Regions from separate parts of the Homo sapiens genome. Here regions 1, 2, 3, 4, 5 and 7 are each linked to region 6. The links are contacts of gene promoters, found by promoter capture Hi-C in blood cells and fetal thymus (Javierre and others, 2016). All regions are on one chromosome and are shown on one strand. The core of a region is centred on a gene start or on the middle of the fragment in contact, and the rest is flanking DNA. Distances in the headings are between cores, read along the strand shown.

Region 1 (3,470 bases), core at 245-2,744, 1.0 Mb after region 6:
TAGATCATGTTACCTTTGAAAGACAGGAAAGAGTTTAGATTTTATTCTATGTGCAATGGAAAAAAAAATGAGAGCATTTTAATCCAAAGAGTAATATAAGATAATATATTTTTAAAATCCACTTTGGTAATTTGTTAATTGGCATAAAGAGTCAGCTTTCATGTAACATAATTACTAACATACTTGGATTTAAATTTGTCATTATTCTTATTTTATTTGTCCCACCTCTTATATGTTCATTTTGTCTTCTTTTGCCTTTTTGATTTTTTTTTTTCTTAATTAGGCCATAGCACCTGATATTCCCAGGCAGACTCTCATCCAAGTGCCAATCAGCCCCAGCCCTGCTTAGCTTCCCAGATCAGATGAGAACAGGCATATTCAGGGTGGTATGGCTATAGACCTTTTAGATTATTTTTAATTATTCCATTTTTTCTACCTCATAAGCTTGACAGATGTCTTTTAGTATCTTTTTACTGTTCACCTCAGGTATTAAAACATGGAACCTTGGTTTATCATCTTTAAGATAATTTGGTATTATACTTCTTCCAGGACAATGTAAGGACCTGCGAACACATCAACTTCATTTACTGCCACACCTCATGTTATATACATTGTATATTCTTAATATGTATTTCCTAAATTCTCAAGACATTTTTTATACAATATGAATTTACATTTCATATTGTATAAAACATTTACTTTTTCTATTGTGTTTCGTGGTTCCTGGAATCTGAGCTTCCATCTAAGACCTTATTTCTTCTTGAAGGACATACTTTAATATTTCTTCGAATATCTACTGGTAACAATTCATTCAGATTTTCTGTCCTGACACTGTCTTATTTTACTTTCATTTTCTAAGAACGTTTTTGCTGAATTAGCAGCTATTTTATCATTTTGAAGATATATTTTATTCCTTCTGGCTTCCATTATGTCCTCTAAGACATAATGTCCATTTTGTTTTTTTCTCTTCAAAGGTAATCTTTTTTTGGATGGCTACTTTTAAGAGGTTTGTCTTAAGTTTGGTGTGCCCACATGTGTTTTGTGTTTGTTTTTTTGTGTGTGTGGTTTTTTTCTGCTTCGAGATTGATAATGTTTCTTGAATCTGGCTGTGATGTCCTTAGGCTGTTTGAGAAAATTCTTAGCTCTGTTTGATCAGACATTGCTTCTGCTTTCACTCTCCTTTCTCCTCTTCTTTTGATACTCCACTTACATTTGTATTTGACAATTCACTTTGTCCCTTGTATTTTCCATTTATTTTCTTGTCTGTTTCATCCTGAATATTTCTTCTTAACTTTCAGTTCACTATTTTCTCTTAGTAGTCTCGAATTTGTTAAATCTCTCTTGAAGCATTTATTTTAGTTATATTTTTGGTTATCAGTTCAAACATTTCTACTTGATTCTGTTTTATTGTTTCCAGTTGTTTATCCAATATCTCAATCTTTTATTTCCTCAAACATACTAATCATAATTACTTTAAAACCTGTATCTAATAACTATGGTGTCTGCTATTATCTGACACTTTTCTTGTTTCTTGCTGTTATCACATTGTCTTGCTTTTATGTCCCTTATTTTTATGTTATTTTGTATTATTTATTTTATAAACATTATAAATATATAAAACTTGGCTTAGGTTATGTTTTAATTGAATGTCAGAATTGTTTTGATTGAACTGTATATGAGGAAACTATACTTTGAAGTCCAATATGATGGTATTTTCTAAAGAAAGAATTTATGTCTCCTGGCAAGACCTTTGGACACTAGTAATCTAAGATCTTCTTAATCTGGTTAGTGATAGAGACAATTAGAATATAGGCAGGTCTATTTCCTGTTCATACTTTCACAATGTAGACCTCTGAAGTCCCAACTCAAGCATGCAGAGTTTACCAGATCAGGCCCTAAACTTCAGTTTTTGTCTTTTTAATTCTATGGGTTAGAAACTCTGTTCAACTTTTCAGCCATCACCTCAGGAATCAGAAGATACTCCAGAGGAAAAGCTAATGTAAATGCTGGATTCAACAACTCTGTTTTTTCCTTCTGAATATTTCATTGTCTCTAATGCTGTCAGATGTTTGTTTTATATTTTGTCCAAGCTGAGTGTGGTGGCTCACGTCTGTAATTTCAGCACCTTGGGAGGCCAAGGCGGGACCATCCCTTGAGGCCAGGAATTTGAGACTAGCCTAGGCAACATAACAAGACCTTTGTCTCTTGGAAAAAAATAAATAAATAAATATTATTAGAAGTGAAAATGGGGATGTTGTTACAAATGCTGTGGAGATTGATGAGAAATTATGAACAACTTAATAATAAATGGGAAAATATAAATGAAGTAGGCAGTTCCAGAAAATGTAACTTTTCAAAAGCCATGTAATGGAAAATATAAATGGTGGGATGTTGATGTAAGAAATCATGATGCCCAGAGACTTTTGCCAAACCTTCAAAGGACAGATCATTACAATTTTACACAAACCATTCCACAGTATATTCCACTTATATACTGTGGAATTGGCCCTTACTGCCCTTATCAAATTTAACATCAAGGTTACAGAAGCTTAATATTACTGCCCTGATTTTATTAGGGCAGTAATGATTTGATAAGGGCAGTAAGAATTACAGCCCTGTCATATTCGCAAAGACAAAAATCCTAAATAAAACAGACCTTAGAAAATGTGTTTTTAAGAAAAGATAATAAAACATGATCAGGTTGAATTTAACCCAGGAATGTATTTTAGTATATTAAGAGATTAGAAAAACTATCTGGCTATCTGAACAGATGCAGGAAAAGAAAACTATTTGAAAAAATTAACAGACATAGATAAACCTTTGGGCAAATTAGAATTGTGTAGAACTTCCTTGAGCCAATAAAACCTACAACAACAATATTTTAAGATGAAGTATTTGAAGCAGTCCATTAGAATCAGGAACAAGTACTATGTTGGAGATCCTAGCCAGCATTATAAGGCAAGAAAAACAAAAGATTAAAAATTGTAAATAAACATAACTTAGTCTACAGATAAATTATTGAAGAGCTTTGCAAGGATTCTGAATATACTATTGATATGGTTTGGATCTGTGTCCCTACCCAAATCTCATGTTGAATTGTAATCCCCAATGTTGGAGGTGAGGCCTGGTGGGAGATTGGATCACGGGAATGGGTTTCTCATTCGTGGTTTAGTACCATCCTCTTGGTACTGTCCTTGAAATAGTTCTTAGGAGATCTGGTAATTTAGAATTGTGTGGTACCTCTCCCCTCTCTCTTGCTCTTGCTCCCCCTTTGCCTTCCACCATGATTGGAAGCTTCCTGAAGCTGCCTCAGAAGCAGAAGCCACTATGCTTCCTGTACAGCTTGCAGAACCATGAGCCAATTAAACCCCTTTTCTTTATAAATTACTCAGTCTCCAGTATTTATAGCAATGTGAAAACAGATAATATGACTATCAATATACAAAAGTGAATTGCATTTCTTTCCAGCA
Region 2 (3,829 bases), core at 14-2,513, 1.5 Mb after region 6:
TGCATTATATTCATGTTGTCTAAGAGCTCATTTTAATGCCAATGTGATTTTATTTTATTAACAGTATTGTTGAATAATTAAAATCTTAACCCCTCCTTTTCTTTATGTACTCTTCTTTAGAAATGCATAGAAGTTCAATACTTCTTTGGCTGGAAAATGATTCATATTTAATGTGAAATGATTAACAGAGAACACAAAAAGTATGGTTTGCTAAAGGTACTCTTGTGTCCAAGGATGGTATCCAGGATTAAGTTGATTGGATCAGAGCCCTTAATTCTCTGCTGACCAGTTGAAGCTTTATTAAGGAAGGTTCTAGTTAATAAATAGTTTTCTTCTAAGTTACTATTTAACCACTCCTGCTTCAGAAAAGTGCTTTAAAAATTCTTGGTGTCATTTTTCCATGCCTCTCACAGATCTCTTAACTTTATTTGTTCAAAAGACTTTGTCCTGCAAATCACCTAGTAGAAGAACTCAGAACAATGATACATACTGCAGTATGGAGTCTGGGCTTACCTGCACTGGTGCCTGCACCAGACGTGAGGTCTCCACCCATCAGACCACCTATGGATTAAAGAGGAAGATCAAAACGAGAAAGGCTAAAGGCCCACAGAACAAAACACTTTACCTTCAGCAACCTCAGTATTTTGTCCTCTTGCAATAGTCATAAACTTGTAAAGTACAACCCAAGTCAGATGGCTGACATTTGTTTTATTGTGCCATGCTGTGCTCAAACGTTAAAAATACATTCAATCACTGACATTTTGCAGAATCTTTTTTCTAAGAAAGTTACATTTAAAAAAATCCAGTCTTTGGTCTCTGCATTTTTATTATTTCTAAGTCTAGGTTTTCCCTAAGCAGATGTTTTATAGAAAGTGAAAGAAAGAGTAAGGTCTACTATATGCTCAGATGACCTCACATTTGATGTTTAGTTCTTTGTAAATATGTTTTATGCCATTAATTTTGTGCAATGTTAATTGTCCAGAAATTTGATCGTTTCATGAATCTACCCACATTTACTACTAAAATCTTATTGACTGACACAATATAACAAATTTTTCACCGGCCACAGATTAAGAAACATATGCTTATTCATTGCTAACTTTAGACAGTATGTTAAAATTTGGCAATGTTTATTTATGAGAGTCAAGATGTTTCAATAAGGTATTGAACATAAAAATTACTTTTAGTTTTGGGCCTGGCGCGGTGGCTCATGCCTGTAATCCCAGCACTTTGGGAGGCCCAGGTGGGCGGATCACGAGGTCAGGAGATAGAGACCATCCTGGCTAACACGGTGAAACCCTGTCTCTACTAAAAATACAAAAAATTAGCCGGGCGTGGTGGCGGGTGCCTGTGGTCCCAGCTACTCGGGAGGCTGAGGCAGGAGAATGGCGTGAACCTGGGAGGCAGAGCTTGCAGTGAGCCGAGATGGTGCCACTGCACTCCAGCCTGGGCAACACAGCGAGACTCCGTCTCAAAAAAAAAAAAATTACTTTTAGTTTTGAAAAAAACAACATTCAGCCAAAAGAATAATAGTGAGAATATCATCTAGATTTTCTAATTGCCTCTAAGTGATACTCTGTAATTATTAGTTGGTTCAGGTTTTGGAATTAAAAGAAAATGTTTGTTTATATATATACATATATATACACGATTTTTTTTTTTTTTTGAGACAGAGCTTGCTCTGTTGCCCAGGCTGGAGTATAGTGGCAGTAATATGGCTCACTGCAGCCTCAACCTCCCAGGCTCAAGTGGTCCTCCCACCCCAGCCTCTCGAGTAGCCGGGACCACATACACAAGCCACTGTACCTAGTTAATTTAAAAAAAAAATGTTTGTAGAGATGGGGTTTCTCTATGTTGCCCAGGCTGGTCTTGAATTCCTGGGCTCAAGCAATCCTCCCACCTCAGCCTCCTAAAGTGTTGAGATTACAGGCGTGACCCACTGCATCTGGCCTTCGTTACAGTTTAAGCAAATGTTTATTATTTCCAATCAGATAATATTTTGGAAATACCGTATCAAATTCAAAAAAATGAGCATGAGTTTATCAAATAGGAAAGTGAACTGCATTCTAGTATGATCTGAAAGGAATACATGTGGTTACTGAAAATTCATACGAAAATTTTCAAATATATTCAAAAGTCAAGAGAATGGCTCAATGAAGTCCTTTGTATACATTTCCCAGACTCAAGATTAAAATTTTTTATTTGGATGAATTTAACTGTATTTTCTATATAAAGCTTCTGTAACAAAAATAGTAATACATGTTTGGTTTTAATTGTAAGGCAGATATATAAGTATTCTACAGGAAAATTCCTCCATGAATAAACTATTTTCATACAGCTATGTGTATGTAGGATACATTAAAAATTTCCTATAGAGTACTTTTAAAAATATGAAATGCAAATATATAATGGTTTGCTGTATGTGACTTAGAAATACAATTATTTTTGATGCTGCTTCTGGAAACATAAAGGAATAATTTTGTTATATTCAATACGCATTGACTTGGTTCCTACTGTTAGTTTAGCAAATCAAGAGAACATTCTTCCCTTAAATGTTCTTTAAATCCAGTATCAAAATAGACATATATTAAATACAATTCATCATAATGTATTTTGATTGTTCTAAGTACTAAGAATGGATGAACTTTTTCTGAGAAATAATTTATTTTTCTCTTGGACACTGTGAATTGAACAACAGCAAGTAAAAGTGCAGAGACAAATTTGTGGCAGGTGTACATGTGTTTAATTAACTTCATTTCTGATTCAGCTTTGTTTTTATTTCACATGTCTTACAAATGATGCTATCTTATCATATTTCCTTTCTGCCTAAGTCCTTTGTGGGATAAGTTACTGTATAAATAAAAAAAAATTGACCCAAATAATAAATAACTAAATGGGATAAATACTATCACAGAACACAGGGGAAGGTTTCACAGAAGTGGTAGCTTGGCCAGGAGGAAGAGGGAAAATGGCATTTTAGGCAGGGAGGACGAGCAGAAGTAAAAGTGTGGAGAAAGGATATCTGACATCCTGTTTGAGAGTATGTGGTTAAAATATAGCCACAGGAGGAGATAGGTGACAGAATGAAAAAGATAAACGGCAGATTATGAAAGATTTCGAAAAACATACTAAAGAATTTAGGCTCTATCATGCAGGAGACCTAGCTCGGGGGTGGATGGTAAGCCATGAAGGAGAGTAAGTGGAAAACCAGAAAACATCTCGTAGATAAAGCAGTGTTGGCTTTGCCGAAAATGGTTCCTTCCAACTATTTGTTAGCATTACATCCTTATGAGGACATACCTGTGTTACCTGCACTTGGAGGTCGATGTGTTACACCAGGAGACATACTATTCCTCTGCAGAGAAGGGTGAGCCAGTGGCAATAGGTTGGGGTTTCCCAGTGAGCTGACAGGGTTGCTGTACACCAAACTGTTGTGGCTGGACACTGGGATGGAGACTGGCATCTCGAAGTTGGGAGGTGGAACAGCCTGCAGGAACAGAAAACAAAACAAAGGTAAAAGAAAAGAATTAATAACAGAAGCTCTTCAAGACAGACAGCCCTTATTTTTCCAAGAAAAATTCTACATTCCAAACTACTTTGTGTCTAGAAGACCATTAAGAAGAGCTCTCAAGACGTTCAGATCATAAATTGATTTCTTAAATGTGCTTAGAACTCCTTCTTTGCAACCATTAAAAAATGTTTCACTTTTGTTTAAAACAAAGCCCCATTTCATTAGACTCCATTGTCTTTGGATTCCATTCTATTAAGTAGTAATTGTTCATTTGTGATATCTGAATCTGGTGCCAGAAATGACTGCAAGATCAAAGGT
Region 3 (3,342 bases), core at 814-3,313, 1.6 Mb after region 6:
AATATATTGTTTGTAGAAAGAGTCATATAAGGACAATATTCATTTAAAAACTGTTAAAGGACCCAAAATTACAGCTAAATAAGACAAATGCATTCAAGTGTTCTATCCCACCAAAGGATGACTACAGTTAATATATCTTACAGTTTGAAATAGCTAGAAGGAGGATATTGGAGGTTTCCAAGACAAAGAAATGATAAATGTTTGAGATGATGGATATGCTAACTACCCTGATTTGATCACTATACATTATACATATTAAAACATCACTGTGCACCCTATGAATACGTACAATTATTTGTTAATTTAAAAAATTTTAAACACAAAAGAAATGAAACAAGCACCCCCAAAACCATCTGTTCATAAAAACCAGTTTGTTGTTGAACTTTTTAAACCTTTGCATATATATGTTACTGTAAAATACAATAAAAGTGTCACAGAAAAAAATCTGTTTCAGGAGCATGATTAAAAATTGGTACCATGTGAAAGAGGGTAAGACTGCCTAACTGATGGAGGTATTTCAAGGGTAAAAAAAAAATGCCGACGGAGAGACTGAAACTGTAGTGTTAGCATAAGCTAGAAGCTGGTAGTGATAAAAATGGTGAGGAGTAGTTAAAAATAATTTGGTCAGTAACATATATTTGAAAACAGGTCCCACAAGCATAACATTTAGGAAACGACTTCTCCCCATCCTTGTCATAAATCCTCTGCAAACGTCCTGTGTGATCTTTCCTTCTTGTCCACAAACTATCCTCTCTGCATCAGCTCACTCCTGCTCTGGTATCATTCTCTAGCCCCTTGTTGGCTTCTGAAGGCTCCTTTGTGCTCCTGCTCTACCTGTTCCACTTTTCCATCCATCTCCTCAATACCCTTTTAAAATAAAACCCTCATGAAATGAAGGTTTAGGTAACATTCTTTATTGTGCTACACAGTACAAGAGTTGTTTTGATAGAAATCACATTAACTATAATAGCTAATGGTTCAAAGAGCCTGAGTCTTAATAGGAATAGCTAATAGGTAAATTTATTGAGCACTTATTATTTGGTGGGTGCTTTACATTTATTGCTTCATTTAATTGTCTTAAAGACCTAATGAGAAAGGTACTAACTTTTTTTCATCCTCACTCTAGTGATGAGGGTACTGCTGAAGCTCAGAGGGTCTAAGTAACTTGCTAGAGGGTCACATAGCTAGTAAGTGGCAGAACTGGGACAAGAACGAAGTTTGTGTGTCTCTAAAAACTATGCCTCTTAGCCATTTGATTATACTGGATGCAGTATAATTGGGAAAAGTAATGACACAAAACCATGCTCTTAGTTATTATATTACACTAGATGCATCATGACATAATTTTAAAAAGCATAATTTGTTTCGTGTTGAATATGAGAGATCCGGGCTCAGATCTTGGTCACTTCCCAGTTTTAACTGTACAATCTTGAGCCAGTTATTTAGAACTTAACAGGACCTTCAAAGCTTTGCGATATCTGGGTCCTGTCTAACATCCAATCTTTTCTCTCATTTCTCTACAGTCATACACCAGGCTTAAGTCCCACTGATCTTCCTTCAGCTCCTCAGTCAAGCTCTTTCCTCTCTTAAGGAACTTTGCAAATACTGCTTCTGGAATGCTGTCACCTGCCTAACTCTGAATCATCTTTTAGCTCATCTTTTAGCACTTCCTCAGGCCTTTCTCCAACCCTGATGTAAATAAAGTACCTCCTATTATTCTTTCATAGCACATATAAGTGAAATTTTTGTTATATATTTTTATATTTCATGTCTGTTTAACTCAATCAGGGGTCCATAAACTGTAGCCTACAAGTGAAATCCAAACGCCCTGTTTTTGTCAGTAAAGCTTTATTGGAGCACAGCCACACAGGTTCATTTACATACTGCATACGGCTTTCAGACTACTAGGGCAGAGCTGAGTAGTTGAGACAAAAACTATATGGCTCACAAGGCTAAAAATATTTGCTATGTGGTCCTTTACAGGAAAGCTCGCTGAACCCCTAAAGCAGAGGATAAGCTGGATGAGATTCTTGTTCACCACTGAATACTTGGTGTTAGGTACACTGCAGTCTAGTAATATTTGTTGATTTCACAGATAAATGAATTATTCAGCCATAAAATGGGACTTATTAATAAAAATTATTTGTAATTATATATATATATATAGTTCTTGGCACATAATTGGTAACTACTTTTATTAGGTTGTCTGAAAATTTCTGTAAGATAAATTAACAATTCATAATGTTATTTTTACATACTTGCTTAAGAAATCCATGTTGTCTAAGCTTGAAACTAAGAAAGAAATAGTTTTTGTAAACTTGGAAATGCCAAAAAATTTTTTTAAATAAAAAAGCTGTCAATTTTTATTCTCACCTAAACTATTTTACGTATTGATGTTTCTGAATTTGAGCTGTCAATTTTTATTCTCACCTAAACTATTTCATGTATTGATGTTTCTGAATTTGAGCTGTTCCCTACTTCCATTATGAAAGACAGCTAAAGTAAAGGTAAAATTCAATTTAAACAGCCATTCTATTTCACAACAGTTTTATTTCTTAATGATATACAACTTATAACATCAGTGCTGTAATATTTCATTTCACACTTGAAGTCAGTATTTCTTTTTCTGGAAAAAACATAACTTATTCTGTGTATAGCTAAATAAACAAGTGCAATGGCAGAGCAGTCTTTGACAACTTTTAAGAAAAGATGACAGTGAGCCATTGCATGAGGTTCTACTGGACAGTCTACAGTGGGGCAGCTTCAAAGAGGGCAAAGCATTTTTCTTTGCAACATGTGAATACACAGTTGAAAGAAAGCCCAGGTTACGGGTGCCTCTACACAGTATGATATGCTGTTTCGGATTTGCTGGTTTTGTTTATTAGAAGTGACCTACATAATTTAGGCTCTTTCCCAAATGACTCTTACAACTGCTCTCATAGTAGGTGAGAGGTGCACAAGACAAGCATTTATATGTAAGATGTTTGAAATTGTCAACAGCCTCTAAAATAATCACTGAAATATATATTAAAACATGGTGGATTTCAAGTTTACTAATTCTGTTTAAAAGTATTGAACTTACAGGCCTACTGTATCTAAAGACTGGAGAAAAGAATAAATATACCCTAAATTCTAAAGAATAAAATCAAGAAATCTGTCTTCAGAATTTAAAAAAATGATAAGTCAAACTAAGCTGAATTTAAATAAGTTTTCTTCTTCTAAAGTTATTATGACTTCTAACCTGGATGAGGGTAACAGCCACTGTAGCTGCAACTATATATAAAAAAAGAAAAGATATTCAATTATTAGCTCAAAAGTGCGACATTAAGATTCTTTGTTTGT
Region 4 (3,602 bases), core at 532-3,031, 1.5 Mb after region 6:
CACTGTACTTTGTCTATATCTTATTATGGTTCAGATAATTGGGTATCATAATCACAGATGCATCACCAGTAACTGGCAGAATGCTTAGCAAATGATCTTCATGTCCATCAATATCTACTGAATGAGAGAACAAATACTGTGTATATTCTGTCCACCATGGACTGCTACTGGCCCTGGAGGGCCGTGAACACCATACTTTGCACATACACTTAATAAATACTTGTGGAAAAGAAAAAAAAAATCAATTCGTTGACCTTTGTTAGATCTTCTTAATTTATGTAAAATGCTACAGTTATTTATATAATCATTCAATATTTACTTATAAATAATACACTTATTAGCATAAACTATGCAGTCGTAAATTAAGAATTTTTGTCTTTCTTTTGGTTAGCATTTTTTCTTCTCTGAACTTTTTCTCTTGACTTTGAAAATAAAACTAATTTTTTAAAACTTAAGGGTTGACAATGGGCTCTGACAGCTGTTATAACCTGCAATCCTCATGACAGCCCCGTAAGGAGCTCAGGGTAGACAGCATTAACTCATGAGGAACCTAAAGCCCAGCAAGGTTACATAACTCGCCCTCCGTTAGAGAATGAGAGTGTGTGATGTTGCTGTAACTGGAACTGAATTTTTAATCTCCATCTTTCCTTCAAATTTGTGGAGCTTTTAAAGTCCTATATCCTAGAAGTAAAATTTGAAAGATGAACTCTCATAACAATGCTTCAACAATATTCTTTAGAAAAATCACTTTGTAGCTTTATTTTTCCCCCACATGAAATTAATTCAGAACAACTACAGTTAAGGAAAACCAATCATGGAGTCTGGATGAAGATAAAATTCCGCACATACTAATTAAGAAAAATCAGAAGAAACCGTGTGCACGCATGATCTTTTCTTTCCTGTTGGAAAAGTTCACAAGGGACCTAGCTTATTTCTACGTTCTTACTACTCATTTTTCCTGTGCCTTTTCCATTTTCTCTTCTTCCTCAGGGCAATTCCAGCTTCAGTGATCCCTCCATTTTCTCGTCTTTCTCCACAAAATCACATAGACTTTAACAAATATTCTGTTCCTTGGAGTAAATGCCAACTGAGTGATTCAACTTTCCTGGTTGGATTTCTCTGCCCTGGCTCAGGTCCTGACTGACGCACAGTGGGCATGTCATAAATGCCTGCTGCAGGAATGGAAGGTGAAGTAGCCAGGTGCAACCTCTCCAGTTTACATATCCTTTATTGGGCTGTATCTATTAACCATCATGCCAGTTTGTTTGTTTGTTTATTTATTTATTTATTTATTTATTTATTTAGAGACTGTGTCTCGCTCTGTCACCCAGGCTGGAGTGCTGGAGTGCAGTGGCACAATCTCAGTTTACTGCAACCTCCGCCTCCCGGGCTCAAGCAATTCTCCTGCTTCATCCTCCCGAGTAGCTGGGATTACAAGCGTGTGCCATCACGCCTGGCTAATTTTTTTTTTTTTTGTATTTTTAGTAGAGATGAGGTTTCACCATGTAGGCCAGGCTGGTCTTGAACTCCTGACTTCAAATGATCCGCCTGCCTCGGCCTCCCAAAGTGCTGGGATTACAGGCATGAGCCACCTCGGCCAGCCCATGCCAGTTATTTGAATGAAAGAGAACACTAGATGCACCAGTTTCGTCATTTACTGTCCAACAGAGGGTTTCTTTCATAATGGACAATTATATTTGGGAGCCACTAGTCACATCTTGCTTGAAATGTGGATAGTGAGACTGAAAAGCTGAACTTTTAATTTTATGTAATTTAAATTATATTTATATTTGTATAGCCACATGTGGCTAGGCTACCTTACAGATTAATGCAGATCTATGTCTTTTCATCTGAAGTCTGGTTATATTATCCAAAGAAAATTTACATGACACAAATGAGTTTATAATTGTCATAGTATAGGTGCTAAATATACCATTTATTTACAAATGTGTACAGTAACTTTCAAAGGGGTTGGGTTTCTGGAACTAACCACAGAGTCAATCAATAAACTTATGTCCTATTGAAATAACTGAGAGTGAAGTTGGCTTTAGATTAGTAGTAGCTCATGCATAGGGTAACTTTGGTCTATTTTTCTATGAAATGGTTTCCTCCTTGACATCATAGTGATGGAACTTGTTTATGATTAAATAGTAATATGCACACTTTTATTTTTGAAAAATAAAGTAATTCAGAAATTATAAAATAAGTTACTATTATTAAAATAAGTTACTATTATTAATTCATATATCTACTTTTTTGTAATACTTTTTTTTTTTTTGAGATAGAGTCTTGCTCTGTCACTCAGGCTGGGGTACAGTGGCATGATCACAGCTCACTGGAGCCTCAACCTCTCATGCTCAGGTGATTCTCTGACCTCAGTCTCCTGCGTAGCTAGGAGTACAGGTATGCACCACCACATCCAGCTAATTTATTTTTATTTTTGTAGAGTTGGAGTCTCTGTATGTTGCCCAGGCTGGTCTTGAACTCCTAGGCTCAAGTAATCCTCCTGTCTCAGCCTCCCAAAGTGCTGGGATTACAGGTGTGAGCCACCATGCCTGCTATAACTATTTTTTTTTTTAATGTGAGGAAAAAACCCAAACACCCATTGTGTAGTTTTACTGTTTACAACGTTTCTTACCCTAGAACAGTAGCTCTAAATAGTTATTCAGTTTATTTACTAAAACATAAAGATAAGAGATTTAATTGATATGAAGAGGTTTTCAGAATCTAATTAACCTTCCAGCTAGTCATTAACTCTATGACCTTTAGAAATAATTGACAGAGAATTTTTTTTCTTATTCATAACTTCTTCCAGGTGGTTAAATTTCAGAGTAGTGCAGAATACACTAAACACCATTGAGACATGACTGGATAATATGCCAAATAGCTATAAAATGGGGTATATTTCCAATAATATAATCTATTTACTTAATCTGTTGTACACATATGCAGCATTTACCTAATTACAGTCCTTTTAATGACTGACTTTGATTAAGTCTTTTCCCAGAATGTCCTATTGATTATTTTGACCAAGAAAATAATGAAAAAGTTATGGGTACTACTATCTCTCTGCACCCAAGGCACATGCCCCTAACCAATCACATCACACTTCCTGAATGTCTGGACTTGGACTCAGCATCTTCCTTAACTGTGTGCTCCAGGCAGCCAGTACAAAGTGATGGGCACACACTAAGGAGTGAAATGTGCCAGAGTCCCACCTCACTGGGTAGTGATGTGCCTTTTATGAATGTATCACACTTCCAGAAAAACCTAAGACACTTCCTTTCAAGAATTAGTTTCACAGAATTTCAGTTGTAAGAACCTGTTTTATAGCATGATTCTAACCCTCCATAAAATTACAAAGAGGAAATAGTCTACAGACACACTTTCAAATTCCATGAAGAAGGAAATACATGTTTGGAAAAGGAAATCTAGATCCTTTCTACTCCAGCAGCATCAGCATCACCTGGTCAGAAATAAAGGGATCCTGGGCCCTGCCCTATACCCACTGAGTTAGAATCAGCATTTTAGCAAGATACTCTGGTGATTCACACTGGGCCACAGGCATTTCATTTGACCCAATACTGGCCAAAGCACTAACA
Region 5 (3,524 bases), core at 128-2,627, 1.6 Mb after region 6:
AGCAGTAAAGTTCCAAGGAGAAATCTCTTTGTGCTCAACATGGTAGAAATATCATTCAAACACAGTTTATCCCTGCAGGGAGATTACCTGTAATGCCGCCAAGGTCACTGTCAAGTTGTATTAATGGCCATATTCAGTATGTCAGTCACATGAGTTGGAGCTGCCTTCTTCTTTTTTCTACTGCATAATGACCAGCCTCTAAATGTACACTGACAAACTGAGGTGAGTGAATATGTTTTTCCAAAATATAGATGGAAGAGTTTCATTCCACCAACTCTTCTATTTTAATTGTACCAAACACGTGGAATGGATATAGTCTGGCAGGAAAGAGGTTTTAAATATTCTACTTTGAAAATTGAACCATTTTTGAAATGGCACCTTGAATCTTAAAGGGAATTATTTGTGGCTGCATTGTGAATTTTCTTTCAAATGTACATTTGCTTATATTGCTGCAAAAGCACAAAATATTTTTTAAATGCAGGAATGACGTCTTTTTATATCAAAAATGTCACTGGAACATGGAGTTAGCAACAGAATGATTTAGTATTCAATAGTTAAGCTCTATTGCGGATTTGTAATTTTCATTTATCAACATTATTCATCATTTACAGAAGAAATGTGAGAGTGTAGACATATTGGCTTTTGAATACATCTACTGACTAGAGAGTAGCAGTCATATTTATGTAGAGTAAAAACAGATTAACACATCTTCTTTACAGGACTTATATTTAAATAGAATAAATCACACCCTGAAAGAATAAATGATATTCTAGTATGTTATAATAAGACTTGCTCGTAGGAGACATCTCTATTAAAAATTTATCACTTTAGCCCTAGAATACCAATGTAGTCCTAGTTTTGAGATTAGCAATCTATTATAATATCTGGAAATTTAGCAATTTCAATTTTCAATTTGCTATCAGAACTCAGCACTGATTTCTTTGTTTCACTTACATACTTTAATTCACCAAAACATTATTGAAATGACTGGGAAAGAAAGAAGACATGAAGAAGCACTTCCCTGCTTACATCAGCTGACCTGGACAATATTTTAAGACTATATTTAGAAAAAGATAAAAAGAGCTGAGTACAGCGACAATTCTCTGTGCCAACTTCCTCTATTACCACTTTTCTTTTCTTTTTTTTCACTTAGTAACTTGACTATAAAACACATGTTAAAAAAAAGGGAGAGAGAATAATCCCAGGACCTCTAGATAGAATTTTAACATGTGAATCTGGTACATAAAATTAGGATACAACATCAGACACCAATCTATACCTTTCATATGAGACCACCATTTCTATTTTGTTTATCTCATTTATATTTACACAATTTTTGGTAATGACTTGGATCACAAATGCATTCAAAGTTCCTCACATTTGAATTTGAACACAAACAATGATTATCTAAATTACAAAAGTTAGAGTCAAATAAATTCCACTTATAAAGTACATAACTAAAAAGTGGGAATACACAAAGTGCAAATAAACTTCATTCAGCACGCTTACAACTATGCTTACAACTAGCGATTGGGCATAAAATGTAACTAAAAATCCATATATAATATTTTAGCTGAGATTTTAAATCTTTAATTGTCATAACTTTTAAAAAGATGATATAGAATAATTTGCCATTTAAAAAAACTCCTCAAAGGTAAAGAGCAGAAAGACATTGTGGAGAGAATCTGCTGGATTTAAAAACTTAATAATGATCTGTATTTGAAAGACCAAAGTTATAGTGGCCAAAACCATTTTAGTAGAGGATAATAAAGCTAGTTCCAGAAAAATGGTTGAATGGCTACAACTTTCTAGTTATGTAACATCTCTTATTTTATAGAATATTGGGTAATCTTACACGGATGAAAAATTACATCCTTAAGGTAAAAACTCCCATTTTCACACATTTCTATCTCTCTACATAGTAATGATAATAGGCAATATGCTAAGTGCTTTATGCATATTATTTAATTCTTATAATTATTCTAGTCATAATAAGGTAGATAAGCTGAGGCACATTTTGAAATCTTCAGTAGTATAACTTCTCACTCCACACTGTTAACTAGTGATTTGCAACTGGGGTAAGCACATTATAAAAATGGGCACACTGATGAAAATTAAGTTTGGATTTTGGTAAAAAAATTGACACTCCTGGGGATACAAATTCCATTTGCCTATGTCATTCTTCTCTGTGAAAGAGTTAAAAGATTTTCTATACTAATGAATAAGGTATTTAGAGTTCTTAACGGGTGATGTAGAAGTAAGTAGTATGTGTTCTTGGATGACACAAAGATTCTTCAATATTGGAAAATACTTCTTAAAATAATATTATTGTGAGCCAGGCGTGGTGGCTAACGCATGTAATCCCAGCACTTTGGGATGCCGAGGCAGGTGGATCACAAGGTCAGGAGTTCGAGACCAGCCTGACCAACATGGTGAAACCCCGTCTCTACTAAAAATACAAAAATTCGCCGGGCATGGTGGCGCCTGCCTGTAATCCCAGCTACTCAGGAGGCTGACGCAGGAGAATCGCTTGAACCCGGGAGGCAGAGGTTGCAGTGAGCCGAGATCGCGCCAGTGCACTCCAGATTGGGCAACAGAGTGAGACTTTGTCTCAAAAAAAAAAAAAAAAAAAAATTCTTGTGCCAAATACTTTAAAATATTTTAAAGTATTTTTAATTTACTTGTTTCTAAATAATTTAATTTGAAAATAAAAAGCATTCATAAATCCACATGCTCCAACTGCTTAACCCTTAAAATTCACATATCTAAGAGCCAGCACACATGATTTTGGCTAATCTGTTGAATTCTATGGGAAATATCTCTTCTTTGTCCTGCAAAGATTGCAAAACTTATTTGTTAAAAATAAATAAATAATAAGGTCATATGCACATAATATATATACAGAGAATGAGTGTGATATTTGACTAACATGCAATGTTATCTAAGACTCAATTTAAAAATCTACAATAAAAGTTTGAACATATTTATTCTATTTAATCTGTGTCTTAAGTGTTTAACTTTGTATCAATCACATTCATGATTGGCCATTATTAAAGTTTTGTTTTCTCTGTTTCAGGCAAATGAATCTGCAAGCTGCCTTAAGAAATTATCTATCGTTAATCAATATTTCGAAATGCAGAAACTTCCAGAAATTAGCAAATCCAGTATACTCTAGATCCATTTTTAATTTAATAATTTGAATTGAAACCATTAACATTTCACTCCAATACTTTTTTAAAAAAACACTGAAGAGATAAATGACAAAAGTAAAGTCATATTTAATGACTTTAGGGTAGCTTGTAGGATAATGTAGGATTATGTGGTAATTATAAAATCTATTTCCTAGACCTTCCTCTCAAAAGGCAAAAACCAAAAATCCTTCAAAGCAAAATTTATTTTTTTTGTTTGTTTATTATACTTTAAGTTTTAGGGTACATGTGCACAACTTGCAGGTTAGTTACATATGTATACATGTGCCATGTTGGTGTGCTGCACCCATTAACTCGTCATTTAACATTAGGTAT
Region 6 (3,752 bases), core at 1,253-3,752:
TGAGATTCAGAAAGTACACAAGCAATAGTAAAGATTAGAGCCTAGATCTATCCAATAATAGGAATATATTAAATATCTGAAAATACCTCATAAAAATATGTGGCAATTTCTTTGGAGGAAAAGAACAGGGCTAACTCTAAGGCTAAACAAAAACTAGGTAAGATATTGGTATAAGGCTGATTTACAAATAGACATAGTAGTTATTTCCTACTGGTTAAGAAATTGATTTCCAAAGATGGGAGCTGATCAAATTTGGTATTTGTTAAAAGGATGAAGATCTGTTCAAAGTAGCATACTGAGGTTGCCTAGGACTGGGCTAGGCAGTAGAATAGACCACAGGTTGTATTTGCAGTACAGTTTTGTAGGTACATACACCTAAAAGTCTAGAAAACATTTAATTGAGCATTTGATAGGTGTTAGACTGCATTAAATATTGACCTTTACAAGTGCTAAAGAATTGTCAAAAAGGAGGAGGTAATTCTGCAGTAAGAGTAGTGAGCCTCACCTGGACTCCCAGGCAACATACAGAGGGTGTGTGAACATTTAGAAATCAGTGATAACCAAGAGCCGGTGATAACCTGCCAGTTCAATGTCCTGCATTCAAGGGCTGACAGTGGTGACTGGGACAGGAATGTTGGAGGATTGGGATGCTAACACACTGGAGGTTTTCAAGCACAGGCTATATTAAGATTTGTTGGGATTGTTGCACTTGGTGTTCACACAGCAGACAGTAAGTAGAGTAGGTATTTTGATAGTCTTGTCTAACTGAGGGTCTAAGTTTAAAAGAAAACTGTTCTCAGGGAGGCCACCATAAGTAGTACTTCATTATTAAGTATTATGGAACTACTTCATTCTCATTTCTAGAACAGCACAGAGCTTGGCAACTCAAAACCCGCCTATTTTACCTACCCACCTAATGAATGACATTTATTATTTCTTTCAGAACCGTTTTTAGGTATTGCATACCTCCTTCTTGATTAGTATACTATACATTAATATAGTGGTTCTCAAACTTAAGTGTGCAAACAATCACTTGGAGGGTTTGTTAAAATGGATCGCTGCATATTTTCTGATTCAGAAGGTCTGAGGTGGCATTTCTGAATTCCTAGGATGTTGCGGCCTGAATTCACTTTGAGAACTCTAGCTCCTGTGACTGGTCCATCTTCCTTCTCCCAGGTAGCACACTGCTAAGAGATATGCGTAATGGAGGCCCCAGGACTACTCCTAATCAAGTTGGATTGTTGTCATTGACTAGGTAAATAGGCCTGTGCAAACTTACAAAGGCAATGCATTGCCTGTATCTTGTCACGTCTTTTAGTGGTCTTTTCTCTTTTTCCTGGGTTTCTATCACAGCCACTTGCCATCCTGAGTGTTAGTTTGATCATCCTTAGCACAGAAAATATTGATCTCAAAGATCAATATCCAATGGTATTTAATGTGGGATCACTCCTGGGAGAATTTAACAATATTGTTAATTTCAAACCATGGGAAGCTCCCTCTACATGAATGCATAGTTTGTATACATTTTAGTGTAAAAGACAAAATAACACCCTTCTCCTTAATTGTATTAAAAATGAGTTTTCAGTTTATTGCTACTTTTGAAACGATATATAATTATAACTAGCATTCTGGGACATTCTTGACATTTGACTTGTTGAAGGTGCTTGCATTGTGGATCACGTCCTGCAGTCTTTTGCACACAAACCAGGACAAAAGTGCATTGATTAGTGTTTTCTGTGGCACCTCCTCCTCTTCATCAGTATCCAACAGACTTATAATGGCATAGGTAAGTATATGAGACAGTTGATAAAGAAAAACGTATGCAAATACTGGTAGAAATCTTACTTCATAACCACTATTTCTACTCAAATTCTTCACCCTTCTCATATGGTGCCCTTTATTTCGTTTTGGAGTTTCAGAATCTATTTTAACTGTGTGTGTGTGAGATAGTCATAGTGATTTATAGCATGCAACGAAAAAGAAAACATTAATAGTACTGCCCCGATCTTCAAAGCTACCTGACCCCTGCCCGGTTTCTGCGCTGCTGGTTAAGGCTGTTTTTTCCACTGGTCAGGAAGTACGGAACTAGTTTCTGGGCATTTTCCTTTCCCTTTCCCCCTCCTTCCTCTCCACCGCCTCCTGGTCCCCCTCTGGTCTCTCCGGCTTTAACAGCGCCAAGCACCCGCGTGCTCAGGTACCCTTCCCTCTTCTCCCGCCCATCAAACAAAGCCCCGGGAGACAGGCGCGCGCCGCCGGCCACGCCAACAGGAGATGCGGCCGCGCCGCCACACGCTTGGAACCGGAGGAGGACAGCAAGCGCGACCACGCACCGCGCGTCCCCGCCGCTTCCTTCCCTCTGGACTCTTCCTTTTCCTCCCGGCCCGGCCCCCCGCCCCCGCTCCGGGAACGCGCCTGCGCACAAGCTGCCCTCTCCCTTCTCCGCCCTTCCTTCCCTCCGTCCCTCCTCCCCTGCCCCGCCTTCCTTTCTCTCTCTCCCGTTTCACTCACTGAGAGCTCCAGGTAGTGAGCAGTTCAGTCGATTTCCTCGTTACCCCGCCCCCCTTTCTCTTGCCCCCCCACCCCTCTCATCTGCCTGGTGGAGGATGAAGCGGCTGCAGTGGCCCCAGCCTCAGCAGCGGCACCGGCGGTGGCTGCGGTGTGGGTGGCCGGAACTGGGGTGGTGAAGAAGCGGTGGTGGCGGCTGAAGGAGCGGTAGCAGCCTCAGCCTCTTTCCCTGTGCTTCCTTTCCTCTTTAGTGCAGCGAGGAAGTTTTCGCTTCTGTACATGTGTTTGTGTGCGTGAGTGTGGGTGTGTGCGGTGAGGTTTGGGTGGCGTTTGTGCAGGCGTTGGGTTTTTTGCCCACTTGGCTTCCCGTAACCCAGGCAGCTGGGGAGCCTGGGCTGTGGCCCTAGGAGGGGGCGCGGCGGCGGGCTCTCTCCTTTTGTTGTTGTTTCCTCAGCCTGGGGAGCTGAAGGGGAGACGCGTCTGGGTGGGGCTGCTCGGAGCCCGGGCCTGGTGGCCCCTGGGGCTCCCGGGCGGGCAGGGTAGGGCAGAGTAGAGCGGGCTTCAACATGATGGCGGCCGAGGCCGGCAGTGAGGAGGGCGGCCCGGTAACAGCCGGAGCTGGAGGAGGCGGCGCGGCAGCGGGCTCCAGTGCCTATCCCGCAGTGTGTCGGGTGAAGATACCCGCGGCCCTGCCTGTGGCAGCCGCCCCCTATCCTGGGCTGGTGGAGACCGGAGTGGCTGGAACTCTGGGTGGCGGAGCCGCTTTGGGGTCAGAGTTCCTAGGAGCCGGGTCTGTGGCAGGGGCACTGGGGGGAGCTGGACTGACAGGGGGAGGTACTGCTGCTGGCGTAGCTGGTGCTGCTGCTGGCGTGGCCGGTGCTGCTGTTGCTGGACCTAGTGGAGACATGGCTCTCACCAAACTGCCCACTTCGTTGCTTGCTGAGACTCTCGGGCCAGGCGGCGGTTTTCCCCCTCTGCCCCCTCCCCCTTACCTGCCCCCTTTGGGGGCGGGCCTCGGGACAGTGGACGAAGGTGACTCTCTGGATGGACCAGAATACGAGGAGGAAGAGGTGGCCATACCGTTGACCGCTCCTCCAACTAACCAGTAAGTTAAGACTGCTGTTCAGGAATTTGGGAAGCTGGCTCCAGAAAAGAAGTGGAAATGAAGGGGTAAATCATACTTTGTCCTTTTCATCTGTGGTTTGTTAGGAAAAGTTTTTGAAGTTTCAGGTTTCTTGGGTAGGAAT
Region 7 (3,784 bases), core at 893-3,392, 1.4 Mb after region 6:
TGGTTTACCTGGGAGTAGACAATCTCTATTTCAGTTAAAAGTGAAAAGTTACGTTTTCCACATTATTTGGATCAGAATTATGCTATTTCATAAATTCAAATACATTAGGTTTGTCACCATATTTAGAACACCTCTGAATCCTATTCAGATTACTGCAAAGCACATGAAGAACTGGCCTATCACTGAAATCCCCTTTTAATATTTGGTTTGTATGATTCAAATGCATGTAAACCACAGTGCACTAGTACAGTCAAGACTACCATTTTCTACATAAAAGCCATTTAATTTACAGTGATTTGTATAGTTCAGGCAAGGTACCTGACTGGCTTACTTTCTAACAAAAGTATTCTATTATTTACTCTGTATCTTGAATTTCTTTTTTATAGGCAGTTACAGGTTATATTTGTATTATGCTTGATATATAATATACAAAGGCTCCCTGTAGAGGAGAAGGCTGCACATATAGAAACTTAGAGCATGAATTAGGAGATATGCAACCCACTGCATGCCTACCGCCTAGTAAATAATACTCTATTTTGTACATCACTTGGATTTTATCAAATGTAAATTTTAAAATTACCTTTGGTTGGTTGGATTGTCTATTCATTTTATGCTTCTTTGCAGTCTCATCTGAAAAATAGTCAAGAAAACAAATGATCACAGTTTATATATATGTATACATATGAAGTCATATAGATATTGCTTCATTTAAAATATTGCTATTAACATGATTCCTTAAAATGCCAGAGATTCCATAAAACCCCAGTACAATGTATCCTAGGTCTCAGCACCCACGGGGTTAAATATGCTAATTTGCATTCAAATGGAGACATGCATGATAATGTGAATGCAAAATATGCAGAATCTGGAGGGGTTTGAGAAATTAATTTTTCTTTCTTCTTTTCTTTTATTTTTAGCTTGGAAGGAAGAGGGACTCTTAAAAAAACATTAGGGACTTGAACCTTGTAACCTGCCATACAAAAGAGGAGAGTCCTTCCATGTAAGGATTTTAAGTCTGGAACAAAGTCTTATTTTCTAAATGTTTAAGGAACTGAATTTCCAGGCCTTTCGAACAATGGCAATCCCTGGATAAATATCTACTCCATTAGAAAGATGCAAATAGTTTACTGTAAGGCCACAGCACCGTGAGATGTGCATTCATATCTATGGCTCCTGATTGGCTCTTTCCTCCAGTAAATCAATGAATAATGTAAAACCTGATTGCTGTAAAGTGGTGGATTTTTGAAAATTTCCCTTCCCCCATTCCCTCTCGATCCAACATTCAGGAATTCAATACTCCCCAAAATAGGTTGTTTTTCTTTTATGATTTTTTAATGCTTATTGTTATTTTGGACTGGAGGGGTGGGGCTATTGGTTTTGCAAAATGAAAGTATTGCCCTGGTTTAATTATGCTGACTGTGGGAGCTCGCTTCCTGAGACAGCGCCCTAATTACCGGTGCCAAGGTGGAGAAAGGAGGGTGGTAGACAGAGGTGGACACCAAGAAAGGGAGGAAACGGAACCCGACTCTGCGGTGCTGGGCCCAAGGCAGCCACAGCTCCAAAGGGGCCCCCGGCCGTGGCCGTGACTTGACAGAGCCTCCGGTCTAACTTCTGATCAATTCCACTGCTCTCCTGACCCCTCAAGACAGTCCCCCATTCAAGCACCGCGGGTACATTTGCAAGATAAAACGCCGCAGACACTAATGCAAATACATTGCCCGAGTTCCCATCACCCTGGGTTCCTGCAGATAATTCCAGGCCACAGAAAGGAGTTCTTGCCTTCCTCAGCCGGGTCTAGACTCTAAGCAAACCGCAAAGACCTAGCTCCGTTTGGATACCAGAAGCGTCTTAAGCTGAACCGCTCCAAGTACCAATAACTAACCATGATGGTTGCATCTTGATGAATCTGAACTTGGGATAACCCTGTAAAGCGGCCTCTCACCTCCCAAAATTCAAAAGGCAAAGAGAAAAGGGAAGTGGAAAGCCACCAGATCTACTTAGCTACTGTACTAAGTTTTCCACCAAAATCTAATCAGACCCTCGCTTCCTTGCCAGGTAATTGCAACTTTGGGGCGGTTAAAGGGAGGCGAATTCTTCAAAATGCGAATTCGAATACAGAAGTGCAAAATACAAGTGCATTTTGCTCTAGGTTTAAAAGGGAAAAGCCCCCCCAAACACACCACCACCACCACCACCACAAAATTACATACAAAAATTCCCTTTTCCAACGCGAAGATTTCCTGGCATCTCTCTGCGATTGGGGGTCAAGCCGCTGGATAATTAACAGTACTGGCTAAGAAAACTCACGAGATCAACAGGTTTAACATCCGAGGCACACAATCAATTAGCTGAAGCAAAGCCCCGGACTGGCCCTCGGAGCGGCCCGCAGCGGGACTCTGCGGGCACCGGCTAGCGGGCGAGGTGAGGAGTGCGGGCGCGGGGCCGCGGCGGGCACTGCTGGCCTCGCGCCGCGGGCGAGCTGCAGCCTGAGGGCCGCCACGATACTCACTTGATCTCCCTGCGCCAGGCAATGCTGCCCCCCAAATCCAGCTGGGCAGGAACCGAGGCGCCGGCTGAAAGACAAGATCCAAAGTCACAGCACGGCCGCAGCACACAAACAGGCTTCTTTCGGCGTCTCCAAAAAAAAAAAAAAAAATGTTTTTCTCATCATTCCTCTCCCCTGCTCAACACATTTAAAACTGCCGCTCAATTCCACATGGTGATTCTTGGTTGATTGCGTCTAAAATAGTTTAAATGGGTCTTCCCTTCTGGGGAGAGGGAGAAGGGCGCAAAAGACCAAGGAGTAAAAAAAAAGCCAACTTTTACCCCCCATGCCAGGCACTTGCTCCCTGAGCCTCGGAGTGGAGAGTGAAGTGGTGTGTGCGAGGCTTGGCAAGTTTTTGGGGGGGCTGTCCAAGGTCTAGTCCAGCCCCCTCTGCCGAGGAGGACGTGCTCTGAAACTCAACCAATTTCCCCACTGCTTTTGTTACTGATGAACTGAAGCCCTATTGTTCATCCATTGCCACGGTCTTTTTCAGTCCCCACACTACGTTCTGCGTTGCCAGAGATAATGAATTTGCACCCAAACCTCTCATAGTCCCCTCCTGACAGACGGAACAAATTAGAAATGTCTCGTCTGAAGGAAGGCAATGGCTACATTTTCCTATTGTAGGATGCAAAGCACACATTTCTTTGGAAACTTCTTTTGCTTTTTTCTTTTTTTTAAAATCCTTTTCTTCTCTTTTTCTTTTTTCCTCCAGTTTTTTTTTCTCTCTCTTGGTTTCTTAAGATTCTTCTTTTTTTTTTATTACAGAATCTCCCTGTCGTTTTTCCAATGCACTGTTTTATGTAACTTGTGAGTCTTCCTAACCTTCTTCCCCTTCTTTCCTCTCCTTTCTTAAGGACTCCCTTTGCAATTTTATTTACAAACTTGGAGAATGACCTTTTGACTCGCAGACTTTTTTTTTTTTAAAGGTCTTTTGGTTCAAGTCCCCCTTCTTCACTCCTCCCCGTTTGTGTCGTGGTTGTTAAATGTGTTTAGCTAAAGACAAGCAATGCATTCTAAAGAATTTTATTCTCTAAACTCTAGAGGTATTCTAAATGTACCAGGGACGCGCCATAGGGGTCATCTATTTGAGGAGGAAGAAAAAGCGGGTGTGTGTGTGTGTGTGTGTGTGTGTGTGTGTGCGCGCGCGCGCGCGCGTCTGCCTTCCACGGAAAGAGAGACGGAGAGATGTGGGAGGGTGGGGGTGGAAGTATGCAGACAGAGAAGGGTGGGGGCTTC

The links. The method cuts DNA at HindIII sites, captures the fragments that hold promoters and counts their contacts. A CHiCAGO score of 5 or more calls a contact.
Region 1: a contact is called between a fragment that was not itself captured here and the fragment with the promoter of RASA1 in region 6, in 1 of 17 cell types (non-activated CD4 T cells). The highest score is 6.9, in non-activated CD4 T cells.
Region 2: a fragment that was not itself captured here is called in contact with the fragment with the promoter of RASA1 in region 6 in 1 of 17 cell types (total B cells); the score reaches 5.8 in total B cells.
Region 3: a contact is called between a fragment that was not itself captured here and the fragment with the promoter of RASA1 in region 6, in 1 of 17 cell types (M2 macrophages). The highest score is 7.1, in M2 macrophages.
Region 4: a fragment that was not itself captured here is called in contact with the fragment with the promoter of RASA1 in region 6 in 1 of 17 cell types (M0 macrophages); the score reaches 6.1 in M0 macrophages.
Region 5: a fragment that was not itself captured here is called in contact with the fragment with the promoter of RASA1 in region 6 in 2 of 17 cell types (M0 macrophages and M2 macrophages); the score reaches 6.3 in M0 macrophages.
Region 7: a contact is called between a fragment that was not itself captured here and the fragment with the promoter of RASA1 in region 6, in 2 of 17 cell types (naive CD8 T cells and naive B cells). The highest score is 6.7, in naive CD8 T cells.

The regions. Positions count from the first base shown.
Region 1 is chr5:88,273,977-88,277,446 of GRCh38, forward strand. The region is part of intron 2 of TMEM161B-DT (TMEM161B divergent transcript); the gene reads left to right. It also overlaps the pseudogene RNA5SP187. Among named protein-coding and RNA genes, the nearest start is that of TMEM161B-DT, 6.8 kb to the left of the region's middle. The HindIII fragment of the contact is 2,104 bases long and covers 443-2,546 here.
Region 2 is chr5:88,748,557-88,752,385 of GRCh38, forward strand. MEF2C (myocyte enhancer factor 2C) reads right to left here. Exons shown (of 11, transcript NM_002397.5): 5 at 3,301-3,487; 6 at 514-561. Among named protein-coding and RNA genes, the nearest start is that of GSCAR, 53 kb to the left of the region's middle. The HindIII fragment of the contact is 1,940 bases long and covers 294-2,233 here.
Region 3 is chr5:88,817,926-88,821,267 of GRCh38, forward strand. The region is part of intron 2 of MEF2C (myocyte enhancer factor 2C); the gene reads right to left. Among named protein-coding and RNA genes, the nearest start is that of MEF2C, 64 kb to the right of the region's middle. RefSeq lists an enhancer at 1,751-1,800. The HindIII fragment of the contact is 439 bases long and covers 1,845-2,283 here.
Region 4 is chr5:88,786,907-88,790,508 of GRCh38, forward strand. The region is part of intron 3 of MEF2C (myocyte enhancer factor 2C); the gene reads right to left. Among named protein-coding and RNA genes, the nearest start is that of GSCAR, 92 kb to the left of the region's middle. The HindIII fragment of the contact is 4,308 bases long and covers 1-3,602 here.
Region 5 is chr5:88,846,538-88,850,061 of GRCh38, forward strand. All of the region lies in intron 1 of MEF2C (myocyte enhancer factor 2C), which reads right to left. Among named protein-coding and RNA genes, the nearest start is that of MEF2C, 35 kb to the right of the region's middle. The HindIII fragment of the contact is 4,623 bases long and covers 1-3,524 here.
Region 6 is chr5:87,265,381-87,269,132 of GRCh38, forward strand. RASA1 (RAS p21 protein activator 1) reads left to right here and starts at 2,503. Exons shown (of 25, transcript NM_002890.3): 1 at 2,503-3,610. The coding sequence starts at 3,072. RefSeq lists enhancers at 2,232-2,526, 2,580-3,467, 3,225-3,274 and silencers at 2,275-2,524, 2,865-3,044. The HindIII fragment of the contact is 5,594 bases long and covers 1-3,752 here.
Region 7 is chr5:88,670,456-88,674,239 of GRCh38, forward strand. It overlaps MIR9-2HG (MIR9-2 host gene), which reads right to left. Exons shown (of 4, transcript NR_152235.1): 2 at 581-630. Among named protein-coding and RNA genes, the nearest start is that of MEF2C-AS2, 3.9 kb to the right of the region's middle. RefSeq lists enhancers at 1,210-1,822, 1,823-2,436. The HindIII fragment of the contact is 7,016 bases long and covers 1-3,784 here.